3 separate regions of the Homo sapiens genome follow, and regions 1 and 2 are each linked to region 3. Evidence: promoter capture Hi-C in 16 types of primary human blood cells and fetal thymus (Javierre and others, 2016). All regions are on one chromosome and are shown on one strand. The core of a region is centred on a gene start or on the middle of the fragment in contact, and the rest is flanking DNA. Distances in the headings are between cores, read along the strand shown. Region 1 overlaps UPF3B (UPF3B regulator of nonsense mediated mRNA decay). Region 2 has its middle 25 kb from the start of RPL39. Region 3 holds the start of NKRF (NFKB repressing factor).

Region 1 (3,949 bases), core at 763-3,262, 230 kb after region 3:
CCAATACTTTGAGGGGATCGGCTGAGCTCAAAAGTTTGAGACCAGCCTGAGCAACATAGGGAGACCTCATCTCTACAAAAAAACTTAAAAATTAGCTGGGCATGGTGATGCATGCCTGTAGTCCCAGCTACTCTGGAGGCTGAGGTAGGGGGATGGCTTAAGCCCAGGAGGTCGAGGCTACAGTGAGCTGAGATTGTACCACGGCACTCCAGCCTGGGTGACATAGCAAGACTCTGTCTCAAAAAATAAACTAAAAACAAAAGAGAACTGAAGAAGACATTTCAAGGAAGCATAATTTGTGGAATTTGTTTAGGTCCTATTAAAAAAAAGACATTAGGCTGGGCACGGTGGCTCATGCCTGTAATCCCAGCACTTTGGGAGGCTGAGGCGGGAGGATCACCTGAGGTCAGGAGTTCGAGACCAGCCTGGCCAACATGGTGAAACCCTGTCTCTACTAAAAATACAAAAATTAGCCGGGCATGGTGGCTTGAGGCTGTAGTCTCAGCTATTCGGGAGGCTGAGGCAGGAGAATCACTTGAACCCGGGAGGTGGAGGTTGTGGTGAGCTGAGATCATGCCACTGCACTCCAGCCTAGATGACAGAGCGAGACTCCATCGCAAAAAATAAATAATTAATTAATTTTAAAAAGACATTAATGAAGCAATTGGGAACATATGAACACTGAATAGACAGGACGTTAAGGAATTATTGTTAGTTTTTTTTGGTGTGAAAATGCTACTAGGGTAATATTAATAGAGTATTTATCTCATATACTGAAGTATTTAAGGAAGAAATTATGTGCAGGGTTTGTTTGAAAATAATCTAGTAGGGGTAGGGATGAAGTAGAATAGAAAGAAGGTTGGCTATGAACTGCTGGGTGATGGGTACAGTACATGGAGTTCATCATACTATTCGATTTTTTTTTTTTTTTTGAGACAGAGTCTCGCTCTGTTGCCCGTGCTGGAGTGCAGTGACGCGATCTCGGCTCACTGCAAGCTCCGCCTCCCAGGTTCACGCCATTTTCCTGCCTCAGCCTCCCGAGTAGCTGGGACTACAGGCGCCCGCCACCACGCCTGGCTAATTTTTTGTATTTTTAGTAGAGATGGGGTTTCACCATGTTAGCCAGGATGGTCTTGATCTCCTGACCTCGTGATCCACCCGTCTTGGCCTCCCAAAGTGCTGGGATTACAGGCGTGAGCCACCGCGCCCGGCCAGTTTTTTTTTTGAGACTGAGTCTCGCTCTGTTGCCCAGGCTAGAATACAATGGCGTGATCTCGGCTCACCTCAACCTCCACCTCCCAGGTTCAAGTGATTCTTCTGCCTCAGCCTCCCGAGTAGCTGAGATTACAGGTGTGCGCCACCACATCCAGCCGATTTTTTGTATTTTTAGTAGAGACGGGGTTTCACCATGTTGGCCAGGCTGGTCTAGAACTCCTAGGCTCTAGCAATCCACCCACCTCAGCCTCCCAAAGTGCTAGGATTACAGGTGTGAGCCACTGCACCTGGCCCATCATACTATTCTCTATTCTACTTTTGTGTATGTTTACAATTTCTATAGTAAGTTAATAAAAGCCCAGCCAAGACTGAAATAAAAGTTGGTCAGGCGTGGTGGCTCACGCCTGTAATCCCAGCACTTTGGGAGGCTGAGGCAGGTGGATCACGAGGTCAGGAGATCAAGACCATCCTGGCTAACACGGTGAAACCCTGTCTCTACTAAAAATACAAAAAAATAAGTCAGGCGTGGTGGTGGGCGCCTGTAGTCCCAGCTACTTGGGAGGCTGAAGCAGAAGAATGGCGTGAACCCAGGAGGCGGAGCTTGCAGTGAGCCGAGATTGTGCCACTGCACTCCAGCCTGGGCAACATAGTCAGACTCTGTCTCAAAAAAAAAAAAAAAAAAAAGTTGCAGATGATTAAAGTTCCCCTTTAAAAATTCTATAATAACAGTGCCCTTTACACTTTCTTTACACTTGCAGGAAAAGGGAAAAAAACCCTCATAAACAAGTTTAATGACAAGCAGCACCTTGTTTCTTATTCGATCTCTCTTGACCACTTCTTCTTTCTTTTCAGTTTTTTCTGAGCTGCCTATTGATTCTGTACTTTCAGCCTTCTTTCCTTTATCCCGAAGTGTGTCTTTCTCTTTTTTCATTTCTTCTTCTTTTCTCTTAAAAGTCTTCTCTTTCTCATAGCGCTCCTTCTGCCTACGGCGCTCTTCTTCTTGCCGCTTCAGCCTCTCTCTTTCTCGAAGTATGCGCTCCTGATCTCGTTCATATTCCCGTTCCCTCTCCCTATAGTCTCTGCCGCTCTCATCTTCAGGTCTGCATGAAAAACAAATCTGAGACAGAACCCTGAAAGATCTTGTAATCACAAATGCAGGAACACTGTGATTCTGATTTGGCCCCTGCAATGAGGTTGCACTTTTAGAGCAGAGTGAAAAATACTAGTGTTTTAAGAAGGAACAAAACCCCAAAACCATTCACCCAGATTAAGATACAAGAATATTCTGAAACTGTTCCTCCTCATCCCCCTGCCCTGCATAAAACAGCTTATCTTAATTCAGGTACATGTCCAGGACATAGCAGCAAAACTAGCATGTATAAATCAAACATAACAAAGAGTCCTTGACTACTGACCTCTTTGGTTTTTCATCTTTAAGTTCGCTATCAGAACGCTTGGGCAATGTACAACTTTGCCCACTGGCTCTTTCATCACTGAGATTCTCTTTGTCCAATTTCTTGGCTTTTTCTCTTTTGTCCAATTCTTTTTCATCTCCTTTTTCTGGCTTCTTGAGCAGCTTTAAAGATAAAATGTTTATTTTTATTTTGAAGGCTGGGACACTATCTTCTATTAAAAACCCAGTATACCAAATATTTAAAATTTAGACTAGACAAAGCCCCCTATCTCTGCAGGTACACTTAATCTTTCAGGTGAACAACTAGTGCATAAGAGTAGTAATTTACTAAAAGGATGCTATTAATGTTAAAGTGTTATCCACTTGAACGAAGTGGTTTAATCACTTTGTGGCAATAGGATCAAGACTCCTTTGGCTTTTATTCTGAGGCAGGGTCTCACTACTCTGTTGCCCATGCTGGAGTGCAGTGGCATGAACATGGCTCACCGCAACCTTGACCTCCTGGGCTTAAGTGGTCCTCCTGCCTCAGCCTCTTGAGTAGCTAGGACAACAGATGCACACCACCACATATGGCTAATTTTTTAATTTTTTTGTAGAGACAAGGTCTCATCATGTCACCCAGGCTGTTCTCAAACTTCTGGGCTCACACCATCCTTCTGCCTCGGCCTCCCACAGTGCTGAGATTACAGGTGTGAGCCACTGTGCCCGGCTTCCTTTGGCTTTAAATGGGTCAACCTTTAAGTGAACCAATGCATACTTCAAAGTATGCTTCTGTAGCAAACCAGCATGTTGATATAACTTAATGGGAAACAGCCCACAAATTTTAAGTGATAGGCAGATCGTTTCTGTTGGGACTGTTTTTATGTAGTACTTGGAATGACAAATACCTTGGTCACCAAAGGAGAGATCCATTGCAGGAATAATTTTGCCTTGAGCCTGAGAATAACATACTTATGATGGTACAATTATCTTGCCATTAGAGATTAATAACAAGAATTATTTGGCATTTGATTTAAAAATCTAAAGGCCTTATACAACCAAATAGTGAAGTTCCATCTCTACTGAGTAGGAACTCTGTATTTAATGCCATATTTACGCATGTTCAAAAATGCCATTGTTTTTTACATTGCTGCTATGAATCTCTCGAGAATACCTCCAAGTGTCGGATAATCAGAGAGATTCTTAGGCAAAATAGAAGAATTTCAAGTCTCAGAGTGAAGGTATCACACAAGGTTCATCTCAGGGTGAAGGCATCATGTAAATTACTAAGCAAAAGGCAAAGCACCACAAGACATAAGCACAAAGCATTTTGGCACACAG
Region 2 (3,908 bases), core at 976-3,475, 210 kb after region 3:
CTGACCTCAGGTAATCCACCCGCCTCGGCCTCCCAAGGTGCTGGGATTACAGGCGTGAACCATCACACCCAGCCTCTCCTCTTCTTTTGTATGGCTAATACAACTTTCCTGCTTTCTTTCTACTGCTGAATCTCCAGACTTGGTTATGTCATCAGGGTGCGAGAGTCGACCTTGGCTTCGAGCTCCTGGATGGTAACGCTGCATCCCTGGATGATTCTGAAGTACAATGAAATATGTTACTGTTACAACAATGCTGCTAAGCTTTTACGTGGGATTTTCAAGTCATAACTTATATATTAATATATACTAAAGTCCAGTCATTTAAGACCAAAAATGTGAAGGCATGGTAAATGACAACTTGCCCACTTCCTCTCTCCATTTCCAAAGAAAAGCAACCATTTCCTAATTATTATTTTATAAGCCTGGTACAACTTATTTTTCTTAGAGACATGGTCTCATTTTGTCACTCAGGCTGAAGTGCAAATGGCAAGATTGCAGCTCACAACAGCCTTGACATTCCAGACTCCAGCCATCCTCCCACCTCAGCTTCCTAGTAGCTGGAATTGCAGGCACGCTCTACCACACTGGGCTAAGTTTTAAAATTTTTAATAGAGATGGGGTCTCCCTATGTTATCCGGGCTGGCTTTGAACTCCTGAAGTTAAATGATTCTGCCACCTTGGCCTCCCAAATGCTAGGATTGCCTGCATAGACGAAGTTTCGCTCTGGTTGTCCAGGTTGGAGTGCAGTAGTGCAATCTCGGCTCACTGTAACCTCTGCCTCCCGGGTTCAAGCGATTCTCCTGCCTTAGTCTGCTGAGTAGCTGGGACTACAGGTGCACACCACCAAGCCCGGCTAATTTTTGTATTTTTAGTAGAGACGGGGTTTCACCACGTAGGCCAGGTTCATCTCCAACTGCTGACCTCAAGTGATCCACCTGCCTCGGCCTCCCAAAGTGCTGGGATTACAGGCATGAGCCACCATGCCTGGCCTATAGTTATTAAGGACATGAAATTATGCTTTATGAGGAAGTGGTCCTCACCCCCCTTGCCTGCAACACAAGAAAGGAGAGCAAGGGAGCAAAGTAGAAGAAAGGTGGCACTGGGGAAAGGATATCAATTCAAGACTGATGGTAAAAATTGCTTAGCAGGAGTGAAGGCTCTCCTGTGGTTTCACCAATTGATCTGCTTGAGGGATTTTCTCCAGCGACACTTGCAGCTTAGGGGCAAGAGGCTCCCACAACACCCTGTGCTACCGCGACCCTTCTGACATTGTGCATCATGATCTGATTATTGCTATTTGCCTCTTGCCAACACTGAAACATGAGTTCCACGTGCACAAGGACTTATTTGAATCCCTGACCCCAGGGCCTGGCACACAGTCAGTGATTGGTACATGTTTGCTAAATGAATGAGCAAATGGAAGAAATTGAAGAGGGTGGGGTGGGGATGGGTGATTTATCCAGAGCTGGACAGGCCAGGCAAGTAGAACAGAAGAGGGAGGTGCTGACATGAAAACAGGCTAGACAAAGAGGCAAGGATGTCAACTCATGCCTGGGGGTTCAGGAGTGTTGCTTCTCCTAAGGCCAACTCCTCTAACCTCTACCTTGGCTTCCATTTTCACCTGCCTTTGCAGGAAGCCTACAGTATTCGTTGTCTCTTTCTCTTGAGTATTCATCCTTGTAGAGCTTACCTTTTGGCTTCTAAACTTACTTACTTTCTCATATTTAAAATAAAGCTTCATTAACACCATTAACCTATGTATCTCCATTTCTTTCACAGCTATATTAATTGGTTTTCACACTAGTAGAAAAAATACCCAAGGCTGGGTAATATATAAAGAGAAGAGGTTTAATTATTTTATTTTATTTTTATTTATTTATAAAATAAATAAAATATGTGACGTAGTCTCGCTCTTGTCGCCCAGGCTGGAGTGCAATGGTGCGATCTCGGCTGACCACACTTCTGCCCTTCAGGTTTAGGCGCTTCTCCTGCCTCAGCCTCCTGAGTAGCTAGAATTACAGGCGGGCATAAGCACACCCAGCTAATTTTTGTATTTTTAGTAGAGATGGGTTTCGCCATGTTTGCCTGGCTGGTCTGGAACTCCTGACCTCAGGTGATCCACCGGCCTTGGTATCCCAAAGCTGGGATTACAGGGGTGAGCCACCAAGCCCAGCCGAAGAGGTTTAATTGACTCACAGTTCCACATGGCTGGGGGAGCCTCAGGAAACTTACAATCATGGCAGAAGGGGAAGTGGACACATGCTACATGGCAGCAGACTAGAGGTGAAGTGCGAGCATAGGAAAAACTGCCTTGTTTAAAACCATCAGATCTTGTGAGGCTTACTCACTATCACAAGATCAGCATGTGTGAGACTGCCCCAATAATCCAATCACCTCCTACCAAGCTCCTCCCTTGACACATGAGGATTACAGTTTAAGATGAGATTTGGGTGCGGGAACAGAGCTCAATCATATCAACAGTCATATGAGAAGTCTTCAAAAAGTCCATGGAAAATGTGTATTATCAAGAAACTATGCATGGATTGCAAAATCTTTTGGCATCAAAATAAACTGGTACTAACTCGTTAAAAAATATCTCGACAGGATCTAGTTTGAGGCATTAAAAAGGAGAAAGCATCAGTGTGAAAAGAGCTCCTATCAGCGAAAAATGGATTCTGCTAAAATTGAAGGAAGAACAAACATAAAATTTAAGATGAAGCTTGGGTGGAAGAACGGTAAAATCACTGATGCTTTACCAAAAGTTTATGGGGACAATGCCCCTAAAGAGATCAGCAGTTTACAAATGGATAACTTGTAAGAAAGGACAAAATGATGTTGAAGATGAAGCCTGCAGCAGCAGGTCATCCACATCAATATGCAAGGGAAAAAATTAGGCCAGGCGCAGTGGCTCACACCTGTAATCCCAGCACTTTGGGAGGCCGAGGCGGGTGGATCACAAGGTCAGGGGTTCAAGACCAGCCTGGCCAACATAGTGAAACCCCGTCTCTACTAAAAATACAAAAATTAGTTGGGTATGGTGGCATGAGCCTGTGGTCCCAGCTACTCAGGAGGCCGAGGCAGGAGAATCGCTTGAACCCAGGAGGCGGAGGTTGTGGTGAGCTGAGATCATGCCACTGCACTCCAACCTGGGCAACAGAATGAGACTCCGTCTTAAAAAACAACAACAACAAAAATCCTCTTCGTGCTTTAACTGAAAAGCATCGGCTGGGTGTGGTGGCTCACCCCTGTAATTCCAGCACTCTGGGAGGCCAAGGCGGGCGGGTCATCTGACCAACCTGGCCCACGTGGTGAAACCCTGTCTCTAATAAAAATACAAAAATTAACTGGGTGCGGTGGCAGGTGTCTGTAATTCCAACTACTTGGGAGGCTGAGGCAGGAGAATCATTGAACCCGGGAGGCAGAGGTTGCAGTGAGCCAAGATTGTGCCACTGGCCTCCAGCCTTCGTGAGAGACTAAGACCAACTATTAATGGCAGAAACAACAGCCATCACCATAGACATCACAATTGGTTCAGCTTACACAATTCTGACTGAAAAATTAAAAGTTGAGCAAACTTTCCACTTGATGGGTGCCAAAACCAGATCAGCTGCAGACAAGAACAGAGATTTCAACGGAAATTTTAAACAAGTGAGATCTATTACGTTGCTGCATATTAATTGTGGTTTATGCCATGGAATGTCAAAAGCCGCAATTACGTTGGCACCAACCAATAGATCATGAAGCATCTATTGGGAAAGTGTAACGGGAGGTGATACGTGGCTTTCCCAGTATGACTCTGAAGACAAAGCAATATCAAAGCAATGACTCTGAAGAGGTGGAAGAGATCCAGTCAAAGCAAAACTGGACTGGCCAAGAGCAAAGGTCATGGCAATAGTTTTTTGAGCTGC
Region 3 (3,887 bases), core at 1,293-3,792:
ATCCTTCCCAAATATGGCAGCTGTGGCTCAGTGGAAAGAGCATCAGTCTGGGTATCAGAAGACCTAGGTCCTAGCCCCAGCTGTAAGACCTTGGAAACGTCACTTAACTTCTTGGCCTCCACTGATTTAGCAGTAAAAATGAGATGCCACCTAATCCCCAAAGTTGTTGTAGGAAATGAAATAATAAATATTTAAAATGTGTTGTACATCATAAAGCTGTATACATCCACTCACTCCACACACATTTATTGAGCAGCTATTATTTAGCAGGCAATCTTCTAGGCACTGAGGATAAAGGTGTAAACAAGAAAGCAAAATCCCTATCCTTAAGGGAGCTTCCATTCTAGTGGGAAGGTAAGATTTATTATTAACACAAAGGATAGTTATCCTCATTTAAGTTTTTGTTTTTATTTTAAGGATTCAGATTTCCGACAGCCTTCTGTGATATTATGGAGACTTACGATTATAGGATAAAGGTAACTTTTGAACTCAAGAACAACACTGTTAGGCAAAGGTCAAGTAGATTTATCTGACTTGTTCAATAACTAAGGCTTCTTCAGTTGTAACCAGTTCCTCCTAATCATTATCTCTGGAGGTAGAAATTATGCTAACCTTGAGAAGACAGAAAAGTAATGTCTGTGATGAGAGCAAAGTATATCACACTGAATGCCATGTTCAATAATTAAGGGCAGGAGGAGACAATCCTATTTTTCTGCATCTGTTACAGTCACTCCTGGAACTGAACTGGCCAAAATTGACATGATCATATTCCAGAATCTCTCACCCTTCCTGATTTAAAAAAAAACAAAAACAAAAACAAAAACAAAAAACTATGATTGCAGGAATGTCAAAAGAAGTCGTCTCCCAATCTATCAAAGAATGAATAGTCTAGTATAGGGCCGATTTAGGGGTTCTGAAGGACAGAGGTCCAAGTAGCCTCTTCAAAAAAAAAAAACAAACAAAACACGCTGCGTTGGAACCATACTGCAGTCTCCATTGAATGCAAAGAGCTTTCAAAGAGGCCTGTTCAAAACGTCACCAGGTTCTAGGAAAGGGGGGAAAAACAAACACACACACACCCCCACCCCCACCACAGACACACACACCTAAAACCTCACTCAGAGCCAAATGTTAATCCTTCTGATCCCATTTAGGGTAAAAAGAGGGCAATCCATTTTTACAGTAGATATATCCATTTCTTTGTTTGAGTCCAGACACATTATGCGCAAATCTACAAGCAAGGCTGACGCTGCTGCGGCTCAGAGAGCTGATACGTACCGCCTCCCCAGGAGAAGACAGTAAGACCCTGCTAGGGGGCTGCAAGTAGAGGGGGGTATTTAAGAGGAATGGAAAAAGAGAGTGGTCAGGAGGAGACTAGAACAGTGGGGTCCCCTCGCCCTTCCCCCACAACTCCAACTGTCGAATATATTCTCTGCGGATACTGCATCCTTGGAAGGCCCTACGCAGGTCCGAGATGCTGCTATTCATCATTCCCCACGTCCTCTAATACCGCCACCAACTACAATGACCACCTCTCAATAATCCTCTTCTAGGCGCTGCTTCATCTCCATCCCTGGTCCTGGAGAGGCCGCTTCCGCGATCTCTGCACCCTCCTAGCTGTTATGTCATGCCCAGCCACCACAGTCGGCCACCCCACCCCCAGGCCAATAGTGATCCCTCTAGTGCCCTCCAGCACCTCCAAATCTCCAGCCTCCAACCTATCCTCCGCATCCCGCCCCCGTCCCTATCCCAACCACCATCATCGATCCCTCCAGCGCCGTCCCTAACCCGATCCCCCATCACCGATCTCTCACCCCCGTCCCTAACCCGACACCCACACCTTCCTCACCTGCAGCCCAGGAAGACGTGGTTGGTCCAGGCGGCGGAGAGCGCGAGGAGCTGGTCGAGGGCAGCCCCGGGATAGCTGTGCAGGTGCCGACAGATGAAGCTGCGCCGCAGAGCCCACTGCCAGTCACTTTCGTGGCTATAGCGCCACTGCTCCAGCACTGGCTCGGGCGGGGGCGGCGGGAGGGGCGGCAGCGGCGGCGGCGGGAGGGGGGGCAGCGGCGGCGCGACAGGAAGTCGCCCCCCAACAGCAGACGTCCTCCAGCCATCTTCTCCGCCCCCAAGCAGGGACCCCAGGGACGAAGCCGACTACGGACCGCGAGCTAGGCAGCTAGCAAGCGGGCGGAAACGGGGGGCCGGTGGGAGGGGCCGGGTAAGGAGGGGCGCGCTGAGGGGAGAAGATCAACTCTCGGGGGGACTGGAGTGTGTGCGTGGGGGCCACCGTTAGGAGGAAAAGAGGAGCACGAGCTCGCGTCCCGACACTGGGATGCACGTCCCCTACACTCCTCTAACTCGTGGAGGAGCAGAAGGGCTTCCGCCGCACTCACGCGCGAGCCGGGGAGGCCGAGTCAGGCTCCGCACCTCCACGGATCCGCAGACCCACGCACTGCGCGGAGAGCGATAAAAGACCCCAGCACGCTCTGCTCCCCTCCTCTAGGTTCTAGCCTACCTACCCGCGTGCCGTCCGGGGTTGTGAGGCCAGTGCGCTTGCGCCGCGGCTGTTCCCTAACTTCCAAATCCCGTCGCAGAATCTCGCGCGACGTACTTTTTTCCCTCCAGTGACGACTACGGGCCTTTGACGCACTACGGTGACAAGCGGAGGGCGGGGACTCCAGAAAGGGAATTTAGGAAGGTTCTCTGAGGTTCGAGAATATGGTTAGAAGGTGCCCTCAGATGAATGTTGGTAGCCCACGGCTCGTCTGACGCTTTTCCCTGGATTTTTAAGCGGCGCGACAGTGAGACCATGTTCCTTGTAAGGGATTTAGGTCTGCACTGGACTTTACATTAAAACAAAACAAAACAGTCAGCTCCCCGAGGTGCCTTTTCTTCAGAGAGTAGCTTGAAATGCTCTGTGCATCGTGCATCATTAGCTTTGTGTAATAGCTTACTGCGGAAACGTAGTAAAAATGAAACACTTGCCAAGAAAATCATCCACAGCGCCGCTTCTCAAGTTAGCCAGTTTCAAGTCCATACTGTATCCCAATTACGAACACAGATACTGTTTACACAGTTCTGATCACGATTGCAAGTCTGTATTTCACGTATCAACTTAAGTGCAAAAGATTACAAGATACAAAAGGGGCCCACAGAAGAGGGTACTGCAAGGTAGAGCCGCTCAATCACTGTAGCCAAATGTATCACTCCACCCGGAGTCAGCTTCACTCAATAACTTCAGTCCCTATCTGCCAACCTGTGTCACGAAAGCAGTTAATCAATGAGTGTCTGTCGGCGGGAATTTACACAGCACCTACTGTGTGCTCAATACAGCAAGAGTACAAAAAAGAAGGAAAGAAAGTGGGTTTTCTCTGTTGTCCTGGAATTGACTACAATCTTGGTGGGGAGAAATAGCCCTGCATAAAACTAAATGTTCCACCAGGAGCCGGACCATTGGATGAGGTGGCTTTAACACACTACCATCTTTAACTCTTTAATGACGTATTTCTAATTATATGACACTTTATGTTAGGGGTGTATTAGACTGAGAGGAGCAGAAGATAACAGCACTTTACACACTTTCATAATTTATTTCCACGTCTGTCTTTCTCCGTGGTGGGCATTCATGTTTATTGGGGTAACAATCGAAATGTTTTTAAAAAGTTCACAAGGTGATACATGCTGTGAAGAAAATAAAACAGGCTGGGTGCGGTGGCTCACGCCTGTAATCCCAGCACTTTGGGAGGCCGAGGCAGGAGGATTACTTGAGGTCAGGAGTTCGAGACCAGCCTGGCCAACATGGTGAAACCCCTGTCTCCACTAAAAATACAAAAATTAGCCGGGCGTGGTGGCAGGCGCCTGTAATCCCAGCTACTCCGGAGGCTGAG

The links. Contacts are between HindIII fragments. The CHiCAGO score rates a contact against its expected background, and 5 or more counts as called.
Region 1: a fragment that was not itself captured here is called in contact with the fragment with the promoter of NKRF in region 3 in 1 of 17 cell types (neutrophils); the score reaches 5.5 in neutrophils.
Region 2: a contact is called between a fragment that was not itself captured here and the fragment with the promoter of NKRF in region 3, in 1 of 17 cell types (fetal thymus). The highest score is 5.1, in fetal thymus.

What each region holds. Positions count from the first base shown.
Region 1 is chrX:119,835,737-119,839,685 of GRCh38, forward strand. It overlaps UPF3B (UPF3B regulator of nonsense mediated mRNA decay), which reads right to left. Exons shown (of 11, transcript NM_080632.3): 9 at 2,631-2,791; 10 at 2,021-2,315. Among named protein-coding and RNA genes, the nearest start is that of UPF3B, 15 kb to the right of the region's middle. The HindIII fragment of the contact is 5,356 bases long and covers 1-3,949 here.
Region 2 is chrX:119,815,092-119,818,999 of GRCh38, forward strand. It overlaps a transcript of UPF3B not described here. Among named protein-coding and RNA genes, the nearest start is that of RPL39, 25 kb to the left of the region's middle. The HindIII fragment of the contact is 984 bases long and covers 1,734-2,717 here.
Region 3 is chrX:119,603,882-119,607,768 of GRCh38, forward strand. It overlaps NKRF (NFKB repressing factor), which reads right to left and starts at 2,543. Exons shown (of 4, transcript NR_163972.1): 1 at 1,850-2,543. RefSeq lists a silencer at 2,077-2,126 and an enhancer at 2,667-2,776. The HindIII fragment of the contact is 11,769 bases long and covers 1-3,887 here.